Linked DNA regions of Homo sapiens: all the other regions are linked to region 7. Evidence: promoter capture Hi-C in 16 types of primary human blood cells and fetal thymus (Javierre and others, 2016). All regions are on one chromosome and are shown on one strand. The core of a region is centred on a gene start or on the middle of the fragment in contact, and the rest is flanking DNA. Distances in the headings are between cores, read along the strand shown.

Region 1 (3,583 bases), core at 350-2,849, 380 kb before region 7:
GCCTGTAATCCCAGCACTTTGGGAGTCTGAGGCGGGCGGATCACGAGGTCAGGAGATCGAGACCATCCTGGCTAACACGGTGAAACCCCGTCTCTACTAAAAATACAAAAATTAGCCGGGCGTAGTGGCGGGCGCCTGTAGTCCCAGCTATTCGGGAGGCTGAGGCCAGAGAATGGCGTGAACCCGGGAGGCGAAGCTTGCAGTGAGCCGAGATCGCGCCACTGCACTCCAGCCTGGGCGACAGAGCGAGACTCCGTCTCAAATTAAAAAAAAAAAAAAAAGATAAGCTTGGGGCGGGGAGGGGTGGATGCAAAATAATAATAATAATGTTTGGACTCATTAATTCCTTGCTTCCTTCAAACTCTGAATATTTTATTATGCCTTTGATTCCTTCTACTCACTTTTGTTTCACCTTTTCCATTCATTTCTTCTTCTCCTCTTCCTCCTTTCTCTTTCCTTTCTGTGTTTCTGCTTATTTTCTATCACAAACCAAAATATGCGGACCATAAACTGCATCTGCAGTTCCTTTAGCCCTAACAGACTACGAGTCCTATTTCTCTTTATCTTTCTCTTTTTCACTTTCTTGTCTTTCCATTACTTACAAGTTTCTTAATTTTCCTGAGTTCAGTTTTTCCATCTGGAAAGTGGAGATAACAATTACTAGATCGTTGTATCAGATGAATTAAGTAATGCTCATGGCTTAACACAAAGGCCAAGATGTCATTAACTTTACCCTCACTTGACCTTCTGCAAGCCTGTTGTGAAATATAAAACACTATAGAAATGTTAGTTGTTTTTGTTTTTATTAAAGTATCATATTGAAGTAGAAAGATGGTTTTGAGTTTGAAAAGCTCCAGATAAATCCTTGGATTTTTATGAGCCTCAATTTCCTTTTCTGTAAAATGAGAACCACATAGGGTTTTTTCCTCCCCAAGAAATTAAGAGTCCATGTACTGAAAGCATCATTCTACAAGTATTAATACATATGTAGTAATCATGGTAGAGGGTGTCCTGAAGTCACAGGGGAATATTTGTGAGGATTCAACGGAATAAAATTTTAAAAGATGTCTGACCAATAGTAAGCACTCAATACATGTTAGCTTTATTCTCTCTTTTATTTTTCTCGCTTCTTTTCTCCTGCTCTTCAAAAAAGTGAGTGGTTGAACCACCTAGGTGATCTCTGCTGCTAAACTTCTATTATTGATTTTTGTTTGCTTCCTCTCTGCCCCTTGTTTCCTCATCCCGTTTTTTTCCCTCTTCTTCACTCCTTCCGTTACAGCTTTTCTCTTGCCTCAGGTACCCAGTGCAGTCCTGATCTCCAGCTCTCCAGCGGCTTAGAACAGACACAGAATGGGCCGGGACCAGGGACCCACCAGAGACGTCTGTAGTTAATAGCTGGCGCTCTTCCACTAATAAAGTTTTATTGAAATAAAGCATTTAAAAAGGCGCCCGTCATTCTTCCCCCAGCGACCAATCGAAGAGTAGAATGCCTGCGTCCCTCACTGGAGCTTCAGCGGTCGGAACGCGGGGGTGGGGCATGTCCTGCCGAAATTTGCGTCCTTAGAGCGGAAGTACGGCCGGAAGCCCGCCATAGAGTTTAGTGGCCAGAGCGACTCTTCAGGGAGGTGGCAGGAAAGGCTTGGAACAGCTGCCGGAGGTGACGGAGCGGCGGCCCCGCCCGGTGCGCTGGAGGTCGAAGCTTCCAGGTAGCGGCCCGCAGAGCCTGACCCAGGGTACGACGAAGCAGTCGGCGGGAGCCCACGGTCGCTGGGCGGTGTCTTTAAGGGAGGGGGCGGAGCCACGTGTAAGCTTCAATGGGGGTGAGGTCACGTGGTTGTGGGCGCGTGCGGGGCAGCAATGGAGAGCTGAGGGAGCGTCGTCAGGGTGGACACCATGCGACACCCATTTCTCCTTTGCATCCTGTGTCTTGGGGTTCAATGGGGTGCACGTGATGGGGCTTGGGGTTAGGCCCAGGGGAGGGGGTGGGTGTGGCAGCCTTGCGAAGTGGCTGACTTTAGGATTCCTAGATCAGAATTTTAGACCGCTCCATGTCTGATTCCTCACCGCAGAACCGACTTAGTGCCTTTACAATCCAGTCCCTCAGCCTTGTGCTTCCCATCCGACCAGCCATCGGGGACCTCTAGCTTCACATCCTCTTTCCTTGCAGCTCTGGACATCCTGAGCCCAAGTCCCCCACACTCAGTGCAGTGATGAGTGCGGAAGTGAAGGTGACAGGGCAGAACCAGGAGCAATTTCTGCTCCTAGCCAAGTCGGCCAAGGGGGCAGCGCTGGCCACACTCATCCATCAGGTGCTGGAGGCCCCTGGTGTCTACGTGTTTGGAGAACTGCTGGACATGCCCAATGTTAGAGAGGTGGGTTGCTGGCTTGAATAGCCCTCAGAGAAGCGTGGGCAAAGGTTTGAATTTGAGAATGGGTGGGCAGGGCTCATTTTGTGATCCAATAACCATTCAGTTGAACAAGAAAACAGTGATAATTAAATGCCAACTTGCAGAAGTAACCAGTGAACAAGCAAACCAGCTCTCCTTTGGAGATAAGGGATCTGTAAAGCCCACTATTTTTCATTTTAAGCAAAAGAGCATCCTATTCAGAATAGGAAACCTGATTTCCAGCCGGTCTCCACCAGTGTAGTAGCTGTTAATTCTCATGTCACCTTGATCAGGTCACTTTTGTTTTAGGGCTTCAGCTTTCTCTTTTTTTTTTTTTTTTTGAGACGGAGTCTTGCTCTGTCACCCAGGCTGGAGTGCAGTGGCGTGATCTCAGCTGAGTGCAAGCTCTGCCTCCTGGGTTCACGCCATTCTCCTGCCTCAGCCTCCTCAGTAGCTGGGACTACAGGCGCCCGCCACCATGCCCGGCTAACTTTTTTGTATTTTTAGTAGAGATGGGATTTCACTGTGTTAGCCAGGATGATCTCGATCTCCTGACCTCGTGATCCGCCCGCCTTGACCTCCCAAGGTGCTGGGATTACAGGCTTGAGCCACCGCACCTAGCCAACTTTCTCTTTTAAAAATGGAGACAATACTGCCCCTCTCTGTTGTGGGAATAAAGTGAGATTATGGGAAAGTGTGAAGTCTGGTACAAGTGGAGAGTGAACATGTTAAATTAGCATGCCCTTTTCTTCCCTATGTGCAGCATATGCTAATCTATTCAAGTTAGCTAAGGGAGAACGTGTCTTTTTCCCAGAGACACATGGCAAACTGCTAGGAACACAGCAGAGAGAACCGTTCACACAAAAGTGGCAGAGTTAATTTACAATCAGAGGAGGCAGCCTGAGTCCTGACATGCTGACAGTGGTATGTGGGTAAACTGAGCTAAGTTATTTGGGGCCTGTGGTTTAACCTTTTGGATCACTCTGTGATATGGAGAAAACTGGCTGACTTTTCCCTGCTTTCATCTGCAGTGGAACTAAAGAGTATCAATCAAAGTGATGAAAAAGAAGCACTTGGCTGGGTGCGGTGGCTCATGCCTGTAATCCCAGCACTTTGGAAGGCCAAGGCAGGTGGATCACCTGAGGGCAGGAGGTGAAACCGATATGGCAGAATCCTGTCTCTGTTAAAAATACAAA
Region 2 (3,475 bases), core at 22-2,521, 420 kb before region 7:
CATTTGGTTGTGACCCCTTCTCCCCCAAAACCAGAAAAGCCATTAACCCAAAAATCATCTTACCCTCTCTCTCTCTTCCTCCTGCCGTCTTATTCCTTCTCCTTTCCAGGGCTCCTGAACTTTCTGTAAACAAATTGTCTAGGTTACAGGGGCCAGGCAGGGTGCAGCCACCAGAGAACTGTGGAGAACCTCAGGAATTATTTGTCAGCAGTCAGTCTGGAAGGCAGGCAGACCCCCCAGCCAGCAATCCAAAGACGGGTGGATATAATAACAGCAGTCTAGTGCTACCCTCTACGTGGATACAAGAGAAATAAATCCAATTCCCAGAAACTAAGACGAATTCTATCACCAGCGTTTGGGTTTCACTCCTAGGCTCAGAGACTGGTCCTTGTTCGTTCCCAGGCCACAGGTAACCAGGGGTCAGAGAACATTAGAGATGGAGGAGGAGGAGGGTCTGTGCCCCTGAGGAGTGGCTTCAGAAGGCAAAGCTGAGGGCTGGGGGATGCACAAGACCTTGTGGCAGGCACAGTGCCAGTTCAGGCCCAGCCACTTCCTCTAGCCTTCCCCCCACTTCTTCGAGGACTTCGCCCCCTGCCTACCCGAGGCCTTGTGCCAAGAAGTACCTCCCTCAGCCTGCACCGTGGTCTATCTACTGGAGACCCCAGCTGTCCCCTCAAAACCTTCGCTCCCCTGAGACAGTTCCTGGGAGCCTTCTCCTGATGTCGTCCCCTACCCCTTTCTCAAAGACCCTTCCTTGGGACGTCCCTCCTTCCCCTCCAGGGAGCTGAACTCTGCCACCCACCAGACAGGCACCCGCCCCCTAAACCCCCCCATTCCTTCCCATCGCCCGCTCCTCCACAACCACTTCCGGTTCCGGGACGGACACACACACAGTCACATCGTGGACCCCCCCTTCCCCGCCTGCCCAAGGAAAAGGGGAGGGGGGAGGAGCAAGCAGCTTGGCGCGCGCCGGCTGTAGCGGCGCGAGACTCACCGGGCGGCGACGGCTGCGGCGGCGCCAGAGCCTGAGCCAGGGCGCGGGAGGGGCGGCGTTTGCTGGGAAAGGAGGGAGCCGAGGAGGGTGGGAGGACCAGGAAGGGGCGAGGGAGGGGAAAAAGCGCAAGGCGCAGCGCGCGGGCACGCACTTCTGGAGCGAGACAGACCCACACACTCACACGCACGGAACGCGCGCGAGACACCCGCAGGGCGGGGGCGCGAGGTAGTGGGTGGCCCCCCCTCCTTGCTGCCCTCCCCTTGCACTCACCCGGAAGTGGTGCTGCAGCTCGTGCTCCCGCGAACCCCAGTTCCTCCACGCCCCCCTCCCTCCCCCCAACAGGCTCAGAGAAGAGCTCTGCGGAGAGAAGGCGGGAGCGCCGGAAACGAAAAGGGGGGAGGGAGGGAAATAGCAATGTAGGGGGGGCGCTAATGGAGAAAGAGGGGCGTGCAGAAGCCGAGTCACTTCCGGGAGTGGCTGGAACACTTCCGGCGCCGCTAGCGCTGCGAGATATTCAGGGCAGAAGTTACGATAACTCGGGGCGGAAATAGCTTCTGCCCAGCGACTGGGAAGAGGGGATGTGACGCTATAGCGGAAGTGAAGGCGGGTTCCGCTAGGGGCAAAAGCTGAAACCGGAGGACTCCGGCCCTGAGCTTCCGGAAGGGACATCTGGGGAAGGTGGGGGGGTGGAAACGCGACAGGTTCATGAATTATCCATCAAGGTAGGAGAGGAGGTGTGGGTTCTTCAGATGCTGGGACCCCGTTTCTCTTCCCTCTGGATGTTGAATAAGCTGATGTAGGAAATTACCATTATTTTTTCTGATACCCCCAAGAATGTCTCAATGCTTTGAATATGCGGGAAAGGACTAGGACGTATCCTTGTTTTTCGGAGGTCCCTACTTAGGTCCAGTTAGAAACTCTCCCAGCCATCAAAATCTGTCTCTCTGACACATCCCTTACTTTACTTTGGTCTTTTCTTGTTGCCCATACCCACATCTCTATCCCCTTACCCTGTTTTACTTAAATATAGCACTTATTACTGCCTGATTTATTGTTTGCTGTCCACCTCTCCCAACTAAAATATTGGCTACAGGACAGCGAGGACTGAATTGTTCGTTGCTGTATCCTCATATCCTGGCAGTTAAGTGGTCTGTAAACTCTTGTTGTATAAATGAACTATAGTTCATTATGAACACCTAAATATGAACCCTTTTAGGAAGCCTTGCCTGATTGCTCCAACCTGTAATGGTCCCTCTGAATTCCCATAGTATTTAATACGTACCTTTTATTGATATTTTAACTATTTCATACATGTGATTCCCCAGCAAGATTGTCAGTTCCTCATGGAAGGAAATACGTTGCTTTGCTGAGCATATAGTAAATGCTGAATATGTTGTTTGAACAAGTGAATGCTGTTACAAGCGTGCACCCCGACCTGGCCAGAATCCCCCTGGGCTCAGCTCTAAGCAGAACTGAGGTCTCTCCTACTAATGGTAAGAGCCTCTTGCTGAGAAAAATAACCTTTTTTTTTTTTTTTTAAAGACAGAGTGTCACCCTGTTGCCCAGGCTGGAGTGCATTGGCGCCATCTTGGCTCACTGCAACCTCTGCCTCCTGGGTTCAAGCGATTCTCCTGCCTCAGCCTCCCTAGCAGCTGGGATGACAGTCGCCCGCCACCACACCGGGCTAATTTTTTGTATCTTTAGTGGAGTCGGGGTTTCACCATGTTGGCCAGGCTGGTCTCGAACTCCTGACCTCAACTGATCCACCTGTCTCAGCCTCCCAAAGTGCTGGGATTACAGGCGTGAGCCACCACGCCCAGCAAAAAATAACTTTAACAGAAATAATTATAATGCTCATTTTACAGATAATGAAAATAAGCCTGTAAAGGATTAAGTGATTTTTTCCCCCAAGGTCAAAGCAAGAAAGTAACAAAGTACGCCTTTAAATATTTAAATAGATGATGCATTTCATTGTAATTGTAGTTTGTATCTTTTTTAAAGTGTCTGTTCCCTTTATCACATTTTTGGGCTCAGCACTCAGTCTCTGTTGACTGAGTAGCAACAGTTGGCAGAGTAAGGATTTTAAGGGCTCAGATGTGACCAGACCTATTGCTGTGTGGGTTAGAGATTGCTGATTCAAGAAACCTTGACATCAGGGGCTGGTATTGAAAGGTGGGAACAGGAAATAGTAATAATAGCTATACGTTCTGGTTCTCCTCCTGCTCTTTTCCTATTTATGTTAACTGGGCACTTCCTGGGTCTCCGTGTCTCCGTCAGCCCTATTCCTGCCCTTGCTATAAGAAGGAAGTTTCCCAGCTACTTGGGAGGTTGAGGCAGGAGAATCACTTGAACCTGGGAGGCGAAGGTTGTGGTGAGCCAAGATTGCGCCATTGCACTCCAGCCTGGGCAACAAGAACTAAACTCCATCTCAAAAAAAAAAAAAAGAAGTTTCAAGTGCTTTGAACTCCTTAGGGAAAAGCT
Region 3 (3,504 bases), core at 667-3,166, 320 kb before region 7:
TTTTACTTAAGAATGCCCTTAATGAGGCCGGGCGCAGTGGCTCGTGCCTGTAATCCCAGCACTTTGGGAGGCCGAAGCGGGCAGATCAGGATCACCTGAGGTCAGGAGTTCAAGACCAGCCTGGCCAACGAGTGAAACCCTGTCTCTACAAAAATACAAAAATTAGCCAGGCATGTTGGCGGGTGCCTGTAATCCCAGCTACTCGGGAGGCTGAGGCAGGAGAATGGCTTGAATCCAGGAGGCGGAGGTTGTAGTAAGCCGAAATCATGCTGCTGCACTTCAGCCTGGATGACAAAGCAAGACTCTGTCTCAAAAAAAAAAAAAAAAAAAAGAGAGATCAAGACCATCCTGGGCAACATGGTGAAACCCCATCTCTACTAAAGATACAAAAATTAGCTGGGCATTGTGGCGCATGCCTGTAGCCCCAGCTACTTGGGAGGCTGAGGCAGGAGAATTGCTTGAACCCGGGAGGCAGAGGTTGCAGTGAGCCAAGATCACGCCACTGCACTCTAGCCTGGGCAACAGAGTGAGACTCCCTCTCAAAAAAAAAAAAAAAAAAAAATATATATATATATATATATAGAATGCCTTTAATGAAGCAGTAAATACTAATTTTATTAAATCTCAACCCTTGAGTACGGTGTGTCATGAAATGAGAAGTAGCACACAGTACTATATGCTACAGATGAAGTACAATGCTGTCAAATAGGGGTACTTGTGTTAATTGTTGGAGTCGCAAGCTGAACTAGAGTTTTCTTTTCTTTTCTTTTCTTTTCTTCTTTTCAAGACAGGTTCTCACTCTGTCACTCAGGCTAGAGTGCAGTGGTGCAATCACGGTTCACTGCAGCCTCAACTTCCTGGGCTCAAGCGATCCCCCCACCTCGGCCTCCTAAAATGCTGGGATTATAGGCATGAGCCACCACTCCCAGCCCCACTTTTTTCAGACTGGAAAACGCACACTCACATGTGCATCTTTAAATGATCACTTGGGCTGTGGTATGGAGAATGGCGACCAGTGAGGAGGCAGGAGCTGTTGTCCGAGCAAGGGATGATATTGGCATCTTGGATTGGCATGGTGGCAGTAGTGGTAGTGCAGAGTGACTTGGGTAGATTTTGGAGCCATTTAGAAGGTAACATCCACAGGAACTGGTAAATAAATACGTGGGAGAAGTTGGGTGAAGGGGGTGTCAAAGATTACACCCAATTTATTTTGCTTGGGCAAGTTGGTGGATGGTGAGCCCCTCACTGAGTGAGAAGCCTGGAGAAGCAGGTTTGGAGGGTGGTAGTATGCAGGTGGTATGCATAGTTGGGGATGTGTGTTGAGTTTGCTATGTCCGGTGAGCTTCCCAGTGGAGATGTCCAATGGGCAGACGGATACTCACATAGAGAGTTCATGGTAGATTCGGGCTAGAGGAAAGCACCTGAGGCCTGGCCAGAGACGCCTAGAGGAACAGAGCCTGGTTAACAGTCACTCCTGGTGTCTCAGATATTCTCTGCTCAGCCCACGCCCTCTCTTCCACACTGGGCCACCTATAAAGCCTCCACAGATACCCCTGGGGCACCCACTGGACACATGCCCTCAGGGCCCCAGAGCAAGGAGCTGTTTGTGGGCTTACCACTGCTGTTCCCATATGCCCCCAACTGCCTCCCACTTCTTTCCCCACAGCCTGGTCAGACATGGCGCTACCACTAATGGAATCTTTCTTGCCATCTTTTTCTTGCCGCTTAACAGTGGCAGTGACAGTTTGACTCCTGATTTAAGCCTGATTCTGCTTAACTTTTTCCCTTGACTTTGGCATTTTCACTTTGACATGTTCCCTGAGAGCCTGGGGGGTGGGGAACCCAGCTCCAGCTGGTGACGTTTGGGGCCGGCCCAGGCCTAGGGTGTGGAGGAGCCTTGCCATCGGGCTTCCTGTCTCTCTTCATTTAAGCACGACTCTGCAGAAGGAACAAAGCACCCTCCCCACTGGGCTCCTGGTTGCAGAGCTCCAAGTCCTCACACAGATACGCCTGTTTGAGAAGCAGCGGGCAAGAAAGACGCAAGCCCAGAGGTAAGGTGGTCAGACTCGGCTTCCTTCCCCGGAGCTGAGAGGGAGGGGAACGTGGGGCAGATGCACAGGAATGTGCTCTGCCCAGTTGTCTGCCCACAGCTCTGGCCACCTTCTCTTGCATTTCTCTTGGAACTGGTCATGAGCAGCGATTTCCCACTGGAACTGTGAGCTTCCAGAGGTCAGAGACTGTGCTAGACTCCTCTCTGCAGCCCCAGCGTGCACAGCTCAGTGTCCAGAGCAATGGGTGCTCCTTAGAGGAGTAGTGACCTAAATAGCAAGATCAGAGAGGGAGTGAAGACTGGAGACTATCCCAGGCTGGGAAAGGCGTGGAAGGCAACTAGTCGTGGGCAGTTGAGGGGAGAAGACTGGAAGAGGGGAAAAGAGGAGAAAAAGAGTGAAGAAGGGGAGGGAAAAAATTAGAAAGAATAAATAAATATAAGGTGGGAGGAAACCTATAAAAAAGAAATGATGAGGAAAAACATAAAAACAAGAAAAAGAGCAAAAGAAGTGGAATCTAGTCTAGAGAAAATTCTTGCAAAACCAATTTTCCTTAACGGGACAATCTCCAAAAATTGACACCAAATATCATACTTGCAGCATTTCATAAGTCGCATGATCTATGTAATAGTCTCTTTTAACTACCTTTTGTGTTTCTGTGTGTATTTTTAAATTTTTGTCTGCTTCTTTGCTCTTTTAAGATTTTTGAACAATGTCTAAAGGCACTTCTACTCTAGTTAGCTTTAAAATGATTCATGAAATAGGAAAGCTAAAATTCTCAGAAAGTGTTGAAACTGAGCTTTTGCGTATGAATTGCCCTAAAAGTTGCAGATACATATCTTTAGATAAATATGTCATTTAAGAAACGGATTCGAAAAGAATTGGTGGTAGGGGTCTCATGAGGCCGGGAGAGTTACAGAAGGATGTGCAGCCCCTCCTGGGCCTGGCAGGGTGTGAGGGAGAGTGAGGACTCACTGTCCCTCCTGAAGGGAAGCCCTGTGCCATCTCAGCCTTTCCGCCCTCAGACCTTTCCAGCCCCTGAGACCTCATGGCCTTGAAGCCGTGCTATCCCCAGTGTCCTCTGCTTTCCCCTCATAGGCTTCTTCTGGGAGAGAGGTTTCCTGGGGTACGTTCTGATCCCTCAAAACGGAAAGGCCCTGTTCTCAATAATTCAAAGATTTCACTCTGAGTGGGATAGTGCTTCCTGAATGCCCTGCTCTTGTGGTGGACATTTTTATCGGGGCAAGGCTAAGAGCAGGGCCTGATGGGGGAAGTCACTGCTACTTCACATTTTGACCAATAATTCCTTGTGCTGTATCAGATGCTGTAGGCTGATACAAAATGGCCGCCGCCCTCAAAGTCAGATGAAAGAGCCCCTGAGGACAGCGTTAGAGACACTCGGGAGATGATTTCCCTCTTTCAATGTGGGAGCACTTACATAGGAGAGGTCTATATC
Region 4 (3,252 bases), core at 478-2,977, 350 kb before region 7:
AAAAATACAAAAATTAGCCAGGCATGGTGGCGCGTACCTGTAGTCCCAGCTACTCGGGAGGCTGAGGCAGGATAATTGCTTGAATCCTGGAGATGGAGGTTGCAATGAGCCGAGATCGTGCCACTGCACTCCAGCCTGCCAATAGAGCGAGACTCCGTCTCAATAAATAAATAAATAAATAAGTTTAATTAAAAGGCCGTGCGCGGTGGCTCATGCCTGTAATCCTAGCACTTTGGGAGGCCGAGGTGGGCAGATTGCCTGAGCTCAGGAGTTCGAGACCAGCCTGGGCAACATGGTGAAACCCCGTCTCTACTAAAATACAAAAGAAATTAGCAAGGTGTGGTGGCGTGTGCCTGTAGTCCCAGCTACCTGGGAGGCTGAGGCAGGGGAATTGCTTGAACTTGGGAGGCAGAGGTTGCAGTGAGCCGAGATCATGCCACTGAATTCCAGCACTCCAGCCTGGGTGACAGAGTGAGACTCTGTCTCTACAAAATAATAATAATAATAATAATTAATTAAAAGTAAAAAAATTCAGTTCCTCAGTTGCGCTAGCCACATTTTCAAGTGTTCAGTAACCACACGACTAGTGGCTACTATGTTGGAAAGTGCAGATAAAGAACATTTCCATCATCACAGAAAGTTTTGTTGGACAGAGCTGGAAGGCACCCATAAATGTTGCCTTCCTTCTGGACTTTGTTGAAGGCCCATGAAGACATGTTGAAGAGTGAATGTGGGGGAGAAATTGAAGGCAGGACAGAGAGAGTCAGGCAATAGCAAACTATTCTAGGTGTAAAAGCAAAGGCGAGGCCGGGTGCGGTGGCTTACACCTGTAATCCCAGCACTTTGGGAGGCCAACACAGGTGAATCACGAGGTCAGGAATTTTAGACTAGCCGGGCCAAGATGGTGAAACCCTGTCTCTACTAAAAATACAAAAATTAACTGGGCGCAGTGGCGGGTGCCTGTAATCCCAGCTACTCAGGAGGCTGAGGCAGGAGGAGAACTTGAACCCGGGAGACAGAGGTTGCAGTGAGCCGAGATTGCGCCACTGCACTCCAGCCTGGGGAATAGAGCAAGACTCTCTCTCGGAAAAAAAAAAAAAAAAGGCAAAGGCATTCCCGAAGGAGGGCAGGGGGAATAAGAAAAGCCAATCAAGATTCTGAAGAAGGGCCCACGTGGTGGTTCACGCCTATAATGGAGGCTGAGGTGGGTGTATGGCTTGAGCCCAGGGGTTCCAGACCAGTCTGAGCAACATGGTGAAACCCGATCTCTATGAAAAATAAAAAAATTAGCCAGGTGTGGTGGGGCGTCTCCAGTCCTAGCTACTGAGGCTGAGGTGGGAGGATCACTTGAGCCCCTGGAGGCAGAGGTTGCAGCGAGCTAAGATCGTGCTACTGTGCTCCAGCCTGGGTGACAGAGTGAGACCCTGTCCCAAAAAAAAAAAAAAAGAATCTGAAGGAGAGGTACAAAGGTGAAACCCATTCTTTTTTTACTGGGGAGAAATTTCATGGAGAAAAGTAGGAAAACCACAAAAACTTTGGTTGTGATGTTCAAAACATAAAAGAGACTTCCAACCAGGACATCTTCCCAGTAGTTACTGGGAAGATCTCAAGTCAGACGGAGGGAAGCCAGTATCCTGGCAGCATGGTGTGTTTTCCCAGCTTCCTTGAAGAAGGTTGAGAGAGCTGTGAGATTGAGTCCAAAATGGTGCCACTGGGCTAGGAAATAGATGGTTTATTGAGCTTTCTTGTTTGTCCCTGGTGTGGTGTTAGATACTATGCCACAGGAGACATTAGTATGGGTGGAAGACCAAGGAAGGCGATTGGGTGTTGAGAACAACATATGGGAAAAAGGGATACGGGTCTGCAAAGTCAGGAGGAATCAGGGAGGCACTGCAGAAAAGGAGTACCCACGGAGACGGGACGCATGATGGATGTGCCTTAATGTTGCCTGGAAGATCATCTCTCCTTATTTTTAACACCCATGGAGGTAACACACTCAATCATGATCCGGCCAGGTGCGATGACTCATGCCCGTACTCCCAGCACTTTGGGAGGCCGAGGTGGGCAGATCACCTGAGGTCAAGAGTTCGACACCAGCTTGGCCAACATAGTGAAACCCCGTCTCTACTGAAAATACAAAATTATCCAGGTGTGGTGGCACATGCCTGTAATCCCAGCTGCTTGGGAGGCTGAGGCATGAGAGTTGCTTGAACCCAGGAGGCAGAGGTTGTAGTGAGTGGAGATTGTGCCACTGCACTGCAGCCTGGGTGACAGAGTGAGACTCTGTCTCAAGACAACAATAATAAAAAAACATGATCGAAGTTAGGCTAATTTAGGTCTTCCTCTAGGACTCCATCTCCTCTCAACTCTCCACTGACTTTCGTTTTGAAAAGTTTTAGATTGAAAATAAAAAAAGCAAAGGAAAATGGGGTAAATGGGGGATAGAAAATGAGGTCACTGGGAATGGAATGGGGATAAAGTAAAACGAGGAGTGGAGATAGCCCCCCCAACTTTCAGGTCTCTGTCTTCCAAGGCCTTGAATGATAACTAGGCCTTCCTTACCCCTTAACCAACAGGAGAAATAGGCACACTGAAAAAATCCAGGAAGCTGGAGAGGGGGAAGAATTCACCAAGAATGAGATGGAAATAACTAGAATTGAACACTTCCCACACATGGTATCAAGGTAAATTTCTAGGATGTCAGGCCAGAAGTCATCGTTTCCAGGGGGCTCAGACCTTCCTTGTTCTCACCTGGTCACCTTTTTCCCGCTTTCAGAAAATGTGTAAGAAGCACATGCTTCCCCCATTCAACTAGTGGGAGAAATTCTCAATTGGACTGTAGAGTAAGGTAATTCTAGGAATAGGCAAGCCTCCACAAAGCCTCAGAAATAGTTCCACAGAGAAAAGCAAACACAGGCCATTTAGCACCGTTGGCCCCAGAGGCTCTGAGGCTAACCCCTAGGACTGTCGGGTGGCTTTCAGATCCCACTCACTCCACATTCATCCCAAGTCTCACTTCCAGCTTCTTTCTCATGAAGCCAAGACTTCAGAAGACTGGTTTGTTGTCCAACCAGAGAGAGATGGCTAAAGGATGCTTCATCCACCAGGAAAGGAATTCGATCCAGGCCTCCAGCTTTCTAGATCTTTTCCCTGGGGTCCCTCGGACCCTAGTGTTCAAGCTCTTAGATTCTCAAGGCACTCCCTTGGGCTTTGGGGCAGGATTCCCATTCTCTGCCTCTCCATCTCTCTGGA
Region 5 (3,412 bases), core at 812-3,311, 500 kb before region 7:
AAGGAGATGAGTAGGTGACACAGCTAGGGGCTCTGAAAAAGGACACAGAAGAGAAAGACATCTGCTTAGGGGCATGACATCAACCATCATTTGAGGATAGACAACAGTTCCCCCAATCAGACAGGGTGGTTACAACCATACGGGTTTGGCCAGTTCATGAAGCCACCCCAAAACACAGATAGCGTAACCCCTAGCACACCTACACAGACACTTCACACTGCCAGCCTAAACCGCAGGCTACCTCATAGAGACAGAAGCCACTAGGAAAAAAGCCAAAACTATGTCCACTCACCAGGAGGAGGAGTGCCCTCCCTTCTTTTGCCCCTCTTCACTAGGCTATTACATCCTCCCCGAGCCCCCATCACTTCCCCACTCAAAACATTCCAGCAATCTGCCTGGCTGCTTTAAGCACTCCAGATCCTGCTGAGGAGCGCGATTCAAACTTCACACAGTTCAGACAGCACAGAAAACCGGTAACCGATCAGAAGCTAAAAATAATCAGATAGAGTGTAACCAGCACTCCCTCTTTCCTTTCCACAGCAGCAACCACAGGATCCTACTAGCACAGATGCCCGGCTGGTCTTTCAAACAGAATCCTCAACGCCCCCCTCCACCACCACCACCACAAGCCTCCAGGGGTCCCAGCTACCTGCATTCCTCCGAGGACCCACATACCAGGTAATGCCTGCCAGCCCAGAGAGCTCCCTCAACTGGGAACTGCAGAGCATTCCTCAAGACAGAGTGCAGCAAGCTGGCATCTCCGTGCCCAGGAGGCACATGGCTTCCACCCCCCTCACACCAGAGCTCCGCAGAAGGGAACCACTCCCTTCGGATACCCTCCACCTCCGGCTCTGCACAGAGACAGCGGAGCAACACAGCCCTGCCTCACCAGAGGAGTCACTCGGGAGAGCCCCAGATGTCTCCTTCCCGCCATGGGCCCTTGGGGAAGATGTTACCTGGGTGGGGTGGGGGCAGGCTGTTGTTCAAAAGTGCATCCATATCCTCCTCCTCACTGCCCGCCGAGCAGGGGGACGGGGAGCCCAGGCCCGACGCCATCCCCTTCCGCTCCCGGCCAGGGAATTGGCCCAGCTGCTCCTGCCGGCGGCCTGAGGACCTCTACACTGGCCCGAGTCACTGTGCGGGGGAGGGGGGAGAAACACAGAACAGTCAGTGACGCGCACTGTCCCCCTCCCCCACACCCACCCGCTCTTTCCGCCCCCCACCCCAGCCACCCTAGCAGGGCACCCGAACCGCTCAGGCTGAACTTAGTTCCACACTCCTCGGGGGCAGCCCGGAAGCCGGCTCCCCGGCAGGCGCCCCCACGGAGCGAGGGAGCGACGCCTCCGAGGGCAGGCTGGTGCAAGCGCGGGGAGGGGAGACGCGGGGCTGGACCGAGCGGGGTGTGACGGGGGAGGGGGTCCGAGTGGCAGCGGCGCGGGGGGGCCAGGGGAGGCCGCAGGCGGCGAGGCGCTCGGGGACACAAGGTCACTTGGGGGTGGGGGGGCGCCTCCCTGCGCCCGGGGAGGGGCCAGTCCCCAGACAGGGCAGCTCTCCAAAGGCTGTCCTCTGGGACAACTCAGGTTCTCCTCAAGAGCTGCGGGGACGAGGGGGCGTGGAGGCTCGGGCGCTGCGGGGGGCCGGAGGCAGGGACGCGGGGGGCGAAAGCGTCCCACCGGGAAGGGGGCCGGGCCACGTGTCCCGGGGGGCAAGTGATCAAAGGGCGAGGGGGTGGGCGCCGGGCATTGTGGGAGACCAAGCCGGAGGCGGGGGGTCGCGGGGAGCAAGACTCCGGCAGGGTTAGGGCGGGGGCTGGGGAGGAGGCCGGGCGCCCTGCAGGGCCAGGAAAGGAAGGGTCGGCTCCTCTGGGCAAGGGGCGGTCCGCGGGTCCGGAGACGCCTGAGGAAGGGGCGGGTGACGGGATGACCCTCGGGGCTGGTAGGGCCGTGAGGGGCGTCTCTTTGGGAACCCCGCGCTCTCCTCACCCCGGAGCCGCCGCAGGTCGCGCTGGGTCCGGCTCGGTGTCACTCCCGCTCCGGCTCCTCCTCGCCGCGGCCGAAGGGGGGAAAATGGCTCCGGCTCCAGCGTCGCCTCTTAAAGGGCCTGAAACACCGGCCGGGAAATCCCACCGCACAGGCCCCGCCCCCCCACGGACAGCCCATAATAACCTCAACCAACTCCAACCCCCCCCTTCCACTACCGCCACCCTCCTCCCCAGGTCTCCCGGGCAACCCCCGCCCCCTCGTCGCTCAGGCAACCACTGGCCACGCCCCCTTCGCAGCGGGCGCGCGCGCGTCACCTGGGCAACCGCCCACCTCCTGGCCATCCCATAATACACACGGACACCCCCCCCCCCAACACACACACACACACACACACACACACACACACACACACACACAACACACACACACCCTGCCCCCCCACATTTCATACACATATGCCAGAGACTGCTGACATCTCAAAATATTGCAGACCTTTTGCAACTAACCCTCTTAGACATCCCATAATAGACATCCTTTGCCAACTTCTTCTTCACTCTTGGACCTAATGCTAACATCCCATAATAATTCATCACCCCTCCCTCCCCATGGCCATCCCATAATAAGCACCCCTCGCAGCACTTATGCCTCATATCCCATAATATTCAGCCCCATCCCCCACAGACATCCCATAATAACCATCCTTCATCCACCCCCAGTTTGATATCCCATAATAGTCAGAAACTCACCCCCCCCCATACTACAACAACGGACACTCGGCCTCCTCCCACACACATCCCGTAATAATCAGTCTCCCACTTTCTATACTGACATCCCATAATAACTAACCCCCTAGAGCTGCCCTCAGTCCCTGCAGGCCAGGGTCTAGAGGCTCACATCACCCCCAGCCTTCCCTCTTCTAGCTCCACAGCCTATAGTAAGTACCCCTCCTCTATCAAAAAGATAACCCATAATGATCAACAGCCCTACTGTCGCCCCACAGATGGACATCTAATCTCTTTTCCTCTAACACTGGAAAGCTATCCCATAATAATTTTACTCTCCTACCCACATCCTGACATCCCATAATAATTGCAAGGAGCCCGTGGTCAACCAAACATACCATAATACTCCCAACACAACCCAGTGTCACATCCCATAATGCTTCATCTCCACTCTACCACCCCTATACCCTTCGAGCCAGGCATCCCATAATATTCATATTCTTCCCACCCCCATCTCCAGGCGCTGTCAGTCTATTCTAACACCCAGAGCAGGGAGGGCCAGGCAGGCTACCCACGCTTCCTTGTCCCCGCCCCCACTTGCACACACCTTAATCCCTTTCTGGGCCAAAGTAGTATCCTGGCAAAAAGCCTCCTGATGTCTGGGACCCCAGCTTCCCTCATACCATCATTTCCAGACACTCGGGGGCT
Region 6 (3,490 bases), core at 850-3,349, 450 kb before region 7:
CTGACCTAAGGCGATCCACCCATCTCAGCCTCCCAATGTGCTAGGATTATAGGCGTGAGCCACCGCTCCCAGCCTTTTTGTTTTTGTTTTTTTTTTGAGGCGGAGTCTCACTCTGTTGCCCAGGCTGGAGTGCAGTGGCATGATCTCGGCCCACTGCAACCTCCACCTCCCAGGTTCAAGCGATTCTCCTGCCTTAGCCTCCTAAGTAGCTGGGACTACAGGGGCACACCACCACACCTGGCTATTTTTTTTATTTTTAGTAGAGACGGGGTTTCACCATGTTAGCCAGGCTGGTCTCGATCTCCTGACCTCATGATCCGCCTGCCTCAGCCTCCCAAAGTGTTGGGATTACAGGCATGAGCCACCGTGCCTGGCCACCAGCCTTTGTTTTTTTTTTTTTTTTTTTTTTTGAGAGGGACACGGAGTCTTTCTCTGTCACCCAGGCTGGAGTGCAGTGGTATGTATGATCTTAGCTCACTGCAATCTTCACCTGCTGGGTTCAAGTGATTCTCCTGACTCAGCCTCCCAAGTAGCTGGGATTACAGTCACATGCCACCATGCCCAGCTAATTTTTTTTTTTTTTTAAAGTAGAGACTGGGCTTCACCATGTTGGACAGGGTGATCTCAAACTCCTGACCTCAAGTGATCTGCCCGCCTTGGCCTCCCAAAGTGCTGAGATTACAGGCATGAGCTACTGTGCCCAGCCTGTCTACCTCACTTTCTAAGCAGGAAGAAGCCACCTTAGATTCTTCCTTCTCTCTCAACCACTCAGTCATTCAGTCAGTCCTTTCATATTTAACTCCTAAATACTTCTGTAACTCCCTAAAATCAGGTTCTTATCTCTGTCCTGGAATGTTATCACTAATTGATCTCTGTTATCAACAATATCATGCTCCAATTTACCATATATTAGTCATTTTCCTCTATAAAAATCATACTCTACTTTAAAATGCAAACTTCTTCGTTTGGCTTAAAAGACCTTGTCCAATCTAGCCTCAGCCTCTTTCTCCAGTCTCCTTTCTCAATTTCTTACCTTAGATTCATAAATATCAAATACGCTGACCTCTGAGTCATAAATATCAAACACCCTTGACCTTGCCACAAACCCATCACAGTACCTTTGCGGATGCTTTCCCCAACCTGGAATTCCTTTTTTCTCTCCTCACTGGCAAATAACCTTCAAGACCCTATTCAAACATCACCTCCGCTGTAAAGCTTTTCCTACATCCCCAGGTAATTACCCCCCTTTTCTCCAGGGTTGCCTACCAAGTGTCCTTTTTAATGTATTTCCATTATCTCACTTGTCACAGTGTTTTATAATTATTTGCAGAATCTGTTTCCTACTAGATCGTGAGCTTCTTGAGGGCAGGAGCCTTGTCTTACTCATTTTTCTATCCCTAGTGCCTGCCATTATGTCTGACCCATAGCAGGACCTCAATAAATATTTGTTGAATAAATGACTCCGGGCCCTAAAACAAATGTAAGCGCACAGAGCAATAGGCTTTCTGCAGGGGTGGTTTACATAAATCGCATAAACACCAGATTTTCATTTGATGGGAATTAGATCTTTACTCCATGAAGAGAAGCGTTCTAGTTCATCATCTGACAGTGGTCACTCATCACCACCACTCTCAACCCCATGAGAAGCCACTTTTGAGGAAGAATGGAGTGGAGGAGAGGTCTTTACCGCTTCTCCAAATGGCAGTGTGTGATAACGATTCTGAACGACTATGGGGAAAAAAATCTACCGAGGCTGGAGACCCTGGAGAATGGGGGCAGCAACTATCTTCCTGGCCATGCACACTAGCCCTTCAAGACACGTCTCTAACCCCCACACCGCACCCCTCCCTCGTCTACACCCATCAGCGGGGCCTCGATCCTGCTGCCCCGCCCCCTCTTTCTCCGCACCCTCCAATATTTCCTGCCACAGAACCGCTTCATAATTGTGACCTTCTCGTCACTGGAACTTAAGGGCTACAGATCCTCTCATCCCTGATCCCCGCACCACTCTGCAGCCCCGACCCCCACCTCCAGCCTGCTCTTACTGTCCAGATAATGTTCCAAATACATCCCCGCAGCCATCTCGAAGCAAAACAAAGCAACTTCCGATCCGCCCCGGAAGTGACTGTAACGCGACAGGGGCCGAAGCCATTTTGCGGCTAAAGCCTTTCCGCCCTTAAAAGGAGAACTTCCGCCCTTAAAAGGAGAACTTCCGCCCTTAAAGGAGAACTTCCGCCCTTACTATATTACCGCCGGTACACATCCGCCCGACACTGAAACTTTTCCTTTTGCATGGTAGCCACGACCGCCCACAGTGAGGCGGCTGTAGCCCGCTTCCGCCCTTACAGACACCCCAGGACGCGACCGAGACAGGTATGACGTCACTGGAGGTCGCCATTTTGCATTCTCTAGCAAACTTTTTTCCCTCCAAAACGGGAATGTATGGTAATCCGTGCAGGGGTAACTGTTCACTTTAGGCTCATATTGCGTAAACATACCTTCTCAGCAACTGGAAGATCCAACTTTTTTTCCCTCTTTTGCAGAATGACTTTTTTCAAGCCAGTTAGTTTCTTAAGGAAGTTGGGGAAGAGTATCAGGCCTTGAGACATTTAAACCGTCTGAATTTCTATTCACTCACACAAACACCATCTCCCCCAGCATTATTTTTTTAACTTGAGAAAGATGATCACCTTTCTACTTATAAATACAAAGAATGACTCATAATAAAGCTATAATTCTGCACATCTTTTGTCAGAGCTCCTGTACGTTACACTAGAATACACTTTCACATATAAAATATTACTTCCTGCCTTGCCCTCTTGCTTTTTTTTTTTTTTTTTTGAGACAGAATTTTCACTCTTATTGCCCAGGCTGGAGTGCAATGGCGTGATCATGGCTCACCGCAACCTCCACCTCCCGGGTTCAAGTGATTCTTCTGTCTCAGCCTCCCGTGTAGCTGGGATTACAGGTATGCACCATCACGCCAGACTAATTTTGTATTTTTAGTAGAGATGGGGTTTCTCCATGTCGGTGAGGCTGGTCTCGAACTTCCGACCTCAGGTGATCTGCCCACCTCAGCCTCTCAAAGTGCTGGGATTACAGGTGCGAACCACTGTGCCTGGCCCCTCTTGCTACTCTCTAAGGGGGAAATCTCGTGTTTTTGTTTTCCTTTTGTTTATATGTGATGTTAGCATCATAATTCTGAAGGGATTGAGGGATGCAGCAGTATCACTACTGGGCTAGTTGGCTAGTTAGTTGCTAGCCATCACTCTAGTCAGCTATGGTAGAGTGATTTCTATGGTTTTCATCAGAATGGGAAGCAGTCAAGGGTATGAGAGGCTGCCAACACACTAGGCTGTCAACACACTGCCAACACAAAGGCCATAACCTAATAGTGGTGTTAGTAAGATAGTATTTTAGAGATAGCTGCCACCCCTCACACTTTTCGTACCCTCACACATCCTTCATAAGAATTACCAATGTCTTACGG
Region 7 (3,484 bases), core at 659-3,158:
GAAGGTGCTCCTCCAAAATGGGAGAGTAAACCAAAAAAGAGAAAGGTATGGGATTCAGGTTCAGCACAGGTAAAGGAAATCCCCAGAAAGAGGGAGAAGAGAACTCCCAGAATGTGTGACGGCTTAGAGAGCAAAGAACTCAGGCTGTGAAAATAAATCGAGAGATCTTCAGGAGGGATGTCACCAATTAAAAGGAGGACCGATAGACTGAAATTCATGCTTGAGTATTTCAGAAGAAGATTTACACTCCTGGTTAAGAGTCTGGTGAGATTAGTTACAGAGACAACTAAGCAAACTAAAAAGCAAAACAAAAACAAACACCCCCCACCAAAAAACAAAACAAAACAAAACAAAAAAACTCCATGTAACTATTGACTCCTAGGAAACCCAAAAGTTGGAGAAGAAAAGAAATATAATTATTTTATGCTATGTGCTCAGATGTGAATATTTTACAGTCATAATAATGTAAATAATGAATAAAGATTTAACTAAAAATGATAATATAGGTAAACTGGCAGAATGAGGAGGGGAAATGTGGGTGGTGAAGACTGAAGACAGATAAAGCTAGTCCTTATCTTCTATACTGTAGTTGAGCATTAATAGAAAATACGTAAAAATGAAAGACAAATAAGCATGTTATTTATACATATGAAGTTAAAGACCAGATGAAACAGCTACATGAATTGGCAAATGACTGCTCCTGAGGAGCAGCACTCAGGGGCGGGGAGGAACAGCTTGGAGACTGCTGTTATTCATAAACCTTTTTAAAAACCTTTTTTTTTTTTTGGAGACAGGGTCTCACTCTGTCACCCAGGCTGGAGTACGGTGTCATGATCAGAGCTCACTGCAGCCTCTACCTTCCAGGCTCAAGTGATCCTCTCACTTCAGCGTCCCTTGTAGCTGGGACCACAGGTGCGTGCCACCACACTTGGCTAATTTTTAAATTTTTTTGTAGAGATGGGGTCTTGCTATGTTGCCCAGGCTGGTCTCAAATTCCTGGGCTCAAGTGCTTCTTTCGCCTCAGCCTCCCAAAGTGCTGGGACTACAGACATGAGCTACTGCGCCCAGCCTTAGAAAACTTTAATTAAAAAACAAAAAGTCTTACAACTATTATGTATCCATAATAATTAAAAATTTTAAAATTAAAAAATAAAGTTCAAAAATTTATGTCATTTTGATATAAATAAAATTTAAATCAAAAGATAATGTGCTCTTTTTATTTTTATTTATTATTTACTTATTTTTGAGATGGGGTCTTGCTATGTTGCTTAGGCTGGCCTTGAACCCTGGGCTCCAGCCCTCTGATCCTCCAGCCTCAGTCTCCTGACTATACTGCTGGGACTGCAAGCTTGCATCACTCCATCAAGTACTGTTTTTAAAATGTCCTTATTCTGAATAAGGCTTTGGCGTTAGAAGTTTTGTAATAGCTCTTCCAAGGTAAGTGTGAACGGTGACTTAATCTTTTGTTATTATTTGTGTCCAGCTTCCTCACCTGATAGAGCAGGCACTCAACAAATACATGATGACATATTTTTAACAACCAATATGTGCGTCCCTGCCCCTGGCTCCATAGATTTGCAAGATTTGTGTGTCCATTCATAAGCCTTCCAAACGCAGGGCCTGCTTGCTGCCCTCTTTGCTCTGTGGGGCCCAGATGGCAGCCCCGGAGGCGCTGGTGGGAGGCTGTGTCCTGGGGTCCACCACTGCTCCCCGGTAAGCCAAGCCCGACTGCCCCTACATGGAAAATTCATCCCTCCTCCAGATGGGGGATTCAGGGCACCGCCACTTCCCACAACCCCGGGAATCTCCCTGGCCACAGTCCTGGCGGGACCCCCCCCATCCCCAGCTCACTGTGACAGAGTCCCCTGCACAGTCCTGGGACGGCTCCAGGTCGAAGTCCTGGAAGACGAGCCTCACAGCAAAGCCCTCTGGAGCCTTGATGTCCGTGCTGCTCTCTTGGCCTTTGCCATACGGCTCTGGGTACCCGGGGGATGTCAGCTGCTGGGGTAGCTCTTGGGCCAAGAGGACGGAGCCCCGGGTTGGGCAAGCCTGGAGGACTCCCCAGAGAAGCAGCCACCACCTGTGAGTTGGGGGGAGGGCAAGGTGGGGCCGCGCAGCTATGGCCGGAAGCCTGTGGGTGTGGGAGGAGCGGGGGAGCCGCGCTAGGACTCAGAGGCCTCGCGAGGCAGGGCTAGAAGCTGTGGCCTCACCCTTGAGGCCCGGGCACTTCCCGTCTCCTCCCTTGCTCCCCTTCCTCACCCCAATCCCTACAGCCTCCCGCGCAGCCTGAGCTCTAGGATTGTGGGTTTTCCATCCTCCGAAGACATCACCTTTGCTCATCTCCCAGGAGAGTCTCGTCCAAAGGAGGGGGGTGCTTTCTGCTTCAGCAGATCCCACCCCACCCTGGGATCCGAGGGAGCAATGGTGGGGCGAGTGAGGGTCTGCCGTAAATATCCCCCGACCACCCTCTGGGAAGGTGCTAGAGGCCACAGGCAAATTTCAGTCTCCCCATGGAATATCTGCTGTGCTGCTGCTGCTGCTGCTGCTGGTGTGTGTATGTGGGGGAGGTGTGTGTGTGTGTGTGTGTGTGGGGGGGGGGGGGATGTGTGTGTGGGGGGGGTAGGGTGGGGGGAGGGAGGGTTTGCGGCCACCCACCCTTTCTCTTCCCCTCCCGTCCTCTTCCCTCCTCCTCTGCCGGGGCCACACTCACATTGCGCCTGGACAGCCTTTGGAGTGAGGGCTTCTCCAGAGATATTTCCCCCACACTCTGGGTCCAGGCATCTGGAACTGGACATCTGGGACCTGCGAGAGAACTGGCCCAGGATAGGGAACAAAAGGTGAAGGCCGGTGGGGGAGGAGGAAGTTCCTGGAAATGTTAAGCAACTCCACAGTTCCCCTTCTCCAATTCTCCGGGCTGAGCGCCACCTGCCGTCTGACTCAGGAACAGCGGGCCCGCCGCAGCTTAGGGGAGAAACGTCCAAAAACCTCGCTGGCCCTCAGAGGTCAGGGTGGCAGGGCACTGACTCGACCCTTTTGTACTATTTAACATTAATTTTTGCCATGTGTGTAGGATGGCTCCTTGTGAGTTATGGCTGCTGCCTTCAATCAGCCATGTCTCTTCCTCCCCGACCTTTCCGTTCACGACATACCCGGGGAGCCTCCCTCTTGTAGAATTGAAGTTTGTGATCCTTGAACTTGAGCTTTCTCTTCCTTTCCCTCCTCCCCAAGCAGGGGTGGGGGACATGCGCTTAGGTGGTCTTTTGAATCCTATTCACAACCTCTGGAGGCTGCTTGTCCAGCATGGTCAGGGCTGGGGTCGAGCCCAGGTGTCCCTCAGTCCCTAGTCCCAGTCATCACTCAAGCCGTCACTCAAGCTTCTTTAGGCAGATACTAGAGCCCCTGCCTGCTCTCACCGCTCCCCGAGGAAGGACACTCACCCACAGCTTGGTAGGAGGCCAGAAGGCTCTTATGGAGATGGGTGGTC

The links. The method cuts DNA at HindIII sites, captures the fragments that hold promoters and counts their contacts. A CHiCAGO score of 5 or more calls a contact.
Region 1: the fragment with the promoter of COPS7A here is called in contact with the fragment with the promoter of C1RL-AS1 in region 7 in 14 of 17 cell types (non-activated CD4 T cells, naive CD4 T cells, activated CD4 T cells and 11 more); the score reaches 18.8 in non-activated CD4 T cells.
Region 2: the fragment with the promoter of ZNF384 here is called in contact with the fragment with the promoter of C1RL-AS1 in region 7 in 5 of 17 cell types (non-activated CD4 T cells, naive CD4 T cells, activated CD4 T cells and 2 more); the score reaches 10.3 in non-activated CD4 T cells.
Region 3: the fragment with the promoter of CD4 here is called in contact with the fragment with the promoter of C1RL-AS1 in region 7 in 10 of 17 cell types (activated CD4 T cells, non-activated CD4 T cells, naive CD4 T cells and 7 more); the score reaches 14.1 in activated CD4 T cells.
Region 4: a fragment that was not itself captured here is called in contact with the fragment with the promoter of C1RL-AS1 in region 7 in 2 of 17 cell types (naive B cells and activated CD4 T cells); the score reaches 6.0 in naive B cells.
Region 5: a contact is called between the fragment with the promoter of CHD4 here and the fragment with the promoter of C1RL-AS1 in region 7, in 5 of 17 cell types (naive CD4 T cells, activated CD4 T cells, total CD4 T cells and 2 more). The highest score is 12.8, in naive CD4 T cells.
Region 6: a contact is called between the fragment with the promoter of ING4 here and the fragment with the promoter of C1RL-AS1 in region 7, in 8 of 17 cell types (non-activated CD4 T cells, naive CD4 T cells, activated CD4 T cells and 5 more). The highest score is 11.8, in non-activated CD4 T cells.

What each region holds. Positions count from the first base shown.
Region 1 is chr12:6,722,447-6,726,029 of GRCh38, forward strand. It overlaps COPS7A (COP9 signalosome subunit 7A), which reads left to right and starts at 1,600. Exons shown (of 8, transcript NM_001164094.2): 1 at 1,600-1,733; 2 at 2,168-2,372. The coding sequence starts at 2,211. RefSeq lists enhancers at 1,525-1,734, 1,765-1,904, 2,035-2,254. The HindIII fragment of the contact is 1,412 bases long and covers 286-1,697 here.
Region 2 is chr12:6,688,104-6,691,578 of GRCh38, forward strand. ZNF384 (zinc finger protein 384) reads right to left here and starts at 1,272. Exons shown (of 12, transcript NM_001385745.1): 1 at 995-1,272; 2 at 64-123. RefSeq lists silencers at 1,121-1,230, 1,311-1,390 and an enhancer at 1,124-1,750. The HindIII fragment of the contact is 17,984 bases long and covers 1-3,471 here.
Region 3 is chr12:6,787,612-6,791,115 of GRCh38, forward strand. It overlaps CD4 (CD4 molecule), which reads left to right and starts at 1,917. Exons shown (of 10, transcript NM_000616.5): 1 at 1,917-2,051. RefSeq lists enhancers at 1,401-1,958, 1,774-1,823. The HindIII fragment of the contact is 6,468 bases long and covers 1-3,504 here.
Region 4 is chr12:6,760,804-6,764,055 of GRCh38, forward strand. No RefSeq gene overlaps it. Among named protein-coding and RNA genes, the nearest start is that of PTMS, 3.9 kb to the right of the region's middle. The HindIII fragment of the contact is 5,304 bases long and covers 1-3,252 here.
Region 5 is chr12:6,605,318-6,608,729 of GRCh38, forward strand. CHD4 (chromodomain helicase DNA binding protein 4) reads right to left here and starts at 2,062. Exons shown (of 40, transcript NM_001273.5): 1 at 1,983-2,062; 2 at 957-1,134. The coding sequence starts at 1,056. LOC124902867 (a long non-coding RNA gene) reads left to right here and starts at 569. Exons shown (of 2, transcript XR_007063193.1): 1 at 569-678. RefSeq lists enhancers at 633-792, 2,533-2,682 and silencers at 1,143-1,192, 1,373-1,432, 1,843-1,942. The HindIII fragment of the contact is 30,599 bases long and covers 1-3,412 here.
Region 6 is chr12:6,661,020-6,664,509 of GRCh38, forward strand. ING4 (inhibitor of growth family member 4) reads right to left here and starts at 2,100. Exons shown (of 8, transcript NM_016162.4): 1 at 2,046-2,100. The coding sequence starts at 2,082. RefSeq lists an enhancer at 2,071-2,130. The HindIII fragment of the contact is 5,227 bases long and covers 1,214-3,490 here.
Region 7 is chr12:7,106,400-7,109,883 of GRCh38, forward strand. C1RL-AS1 (C1RL antisense RNA 1) reads left to right here and starts at 1,909. Exons shown (of 12, transcript NR_026947.1): 1 at 1,909-2,082; 2 at 2,274-2,548. C1RL (complement C1r subcomponent like) reads right to left here and starts at 2,815. Exons shown (of 6, transcript NM_016546.4): 1 at 2,711-2,815; 2 at 1,852-2,080. The coding sequence starts at 2,781. RefSeq lists enhancers at 1,835-3,034, 1,867-2,036, 2,677-2,756. The HindIII fragment of the contact is 2,026 bases long and covers 1,347-3,372 here.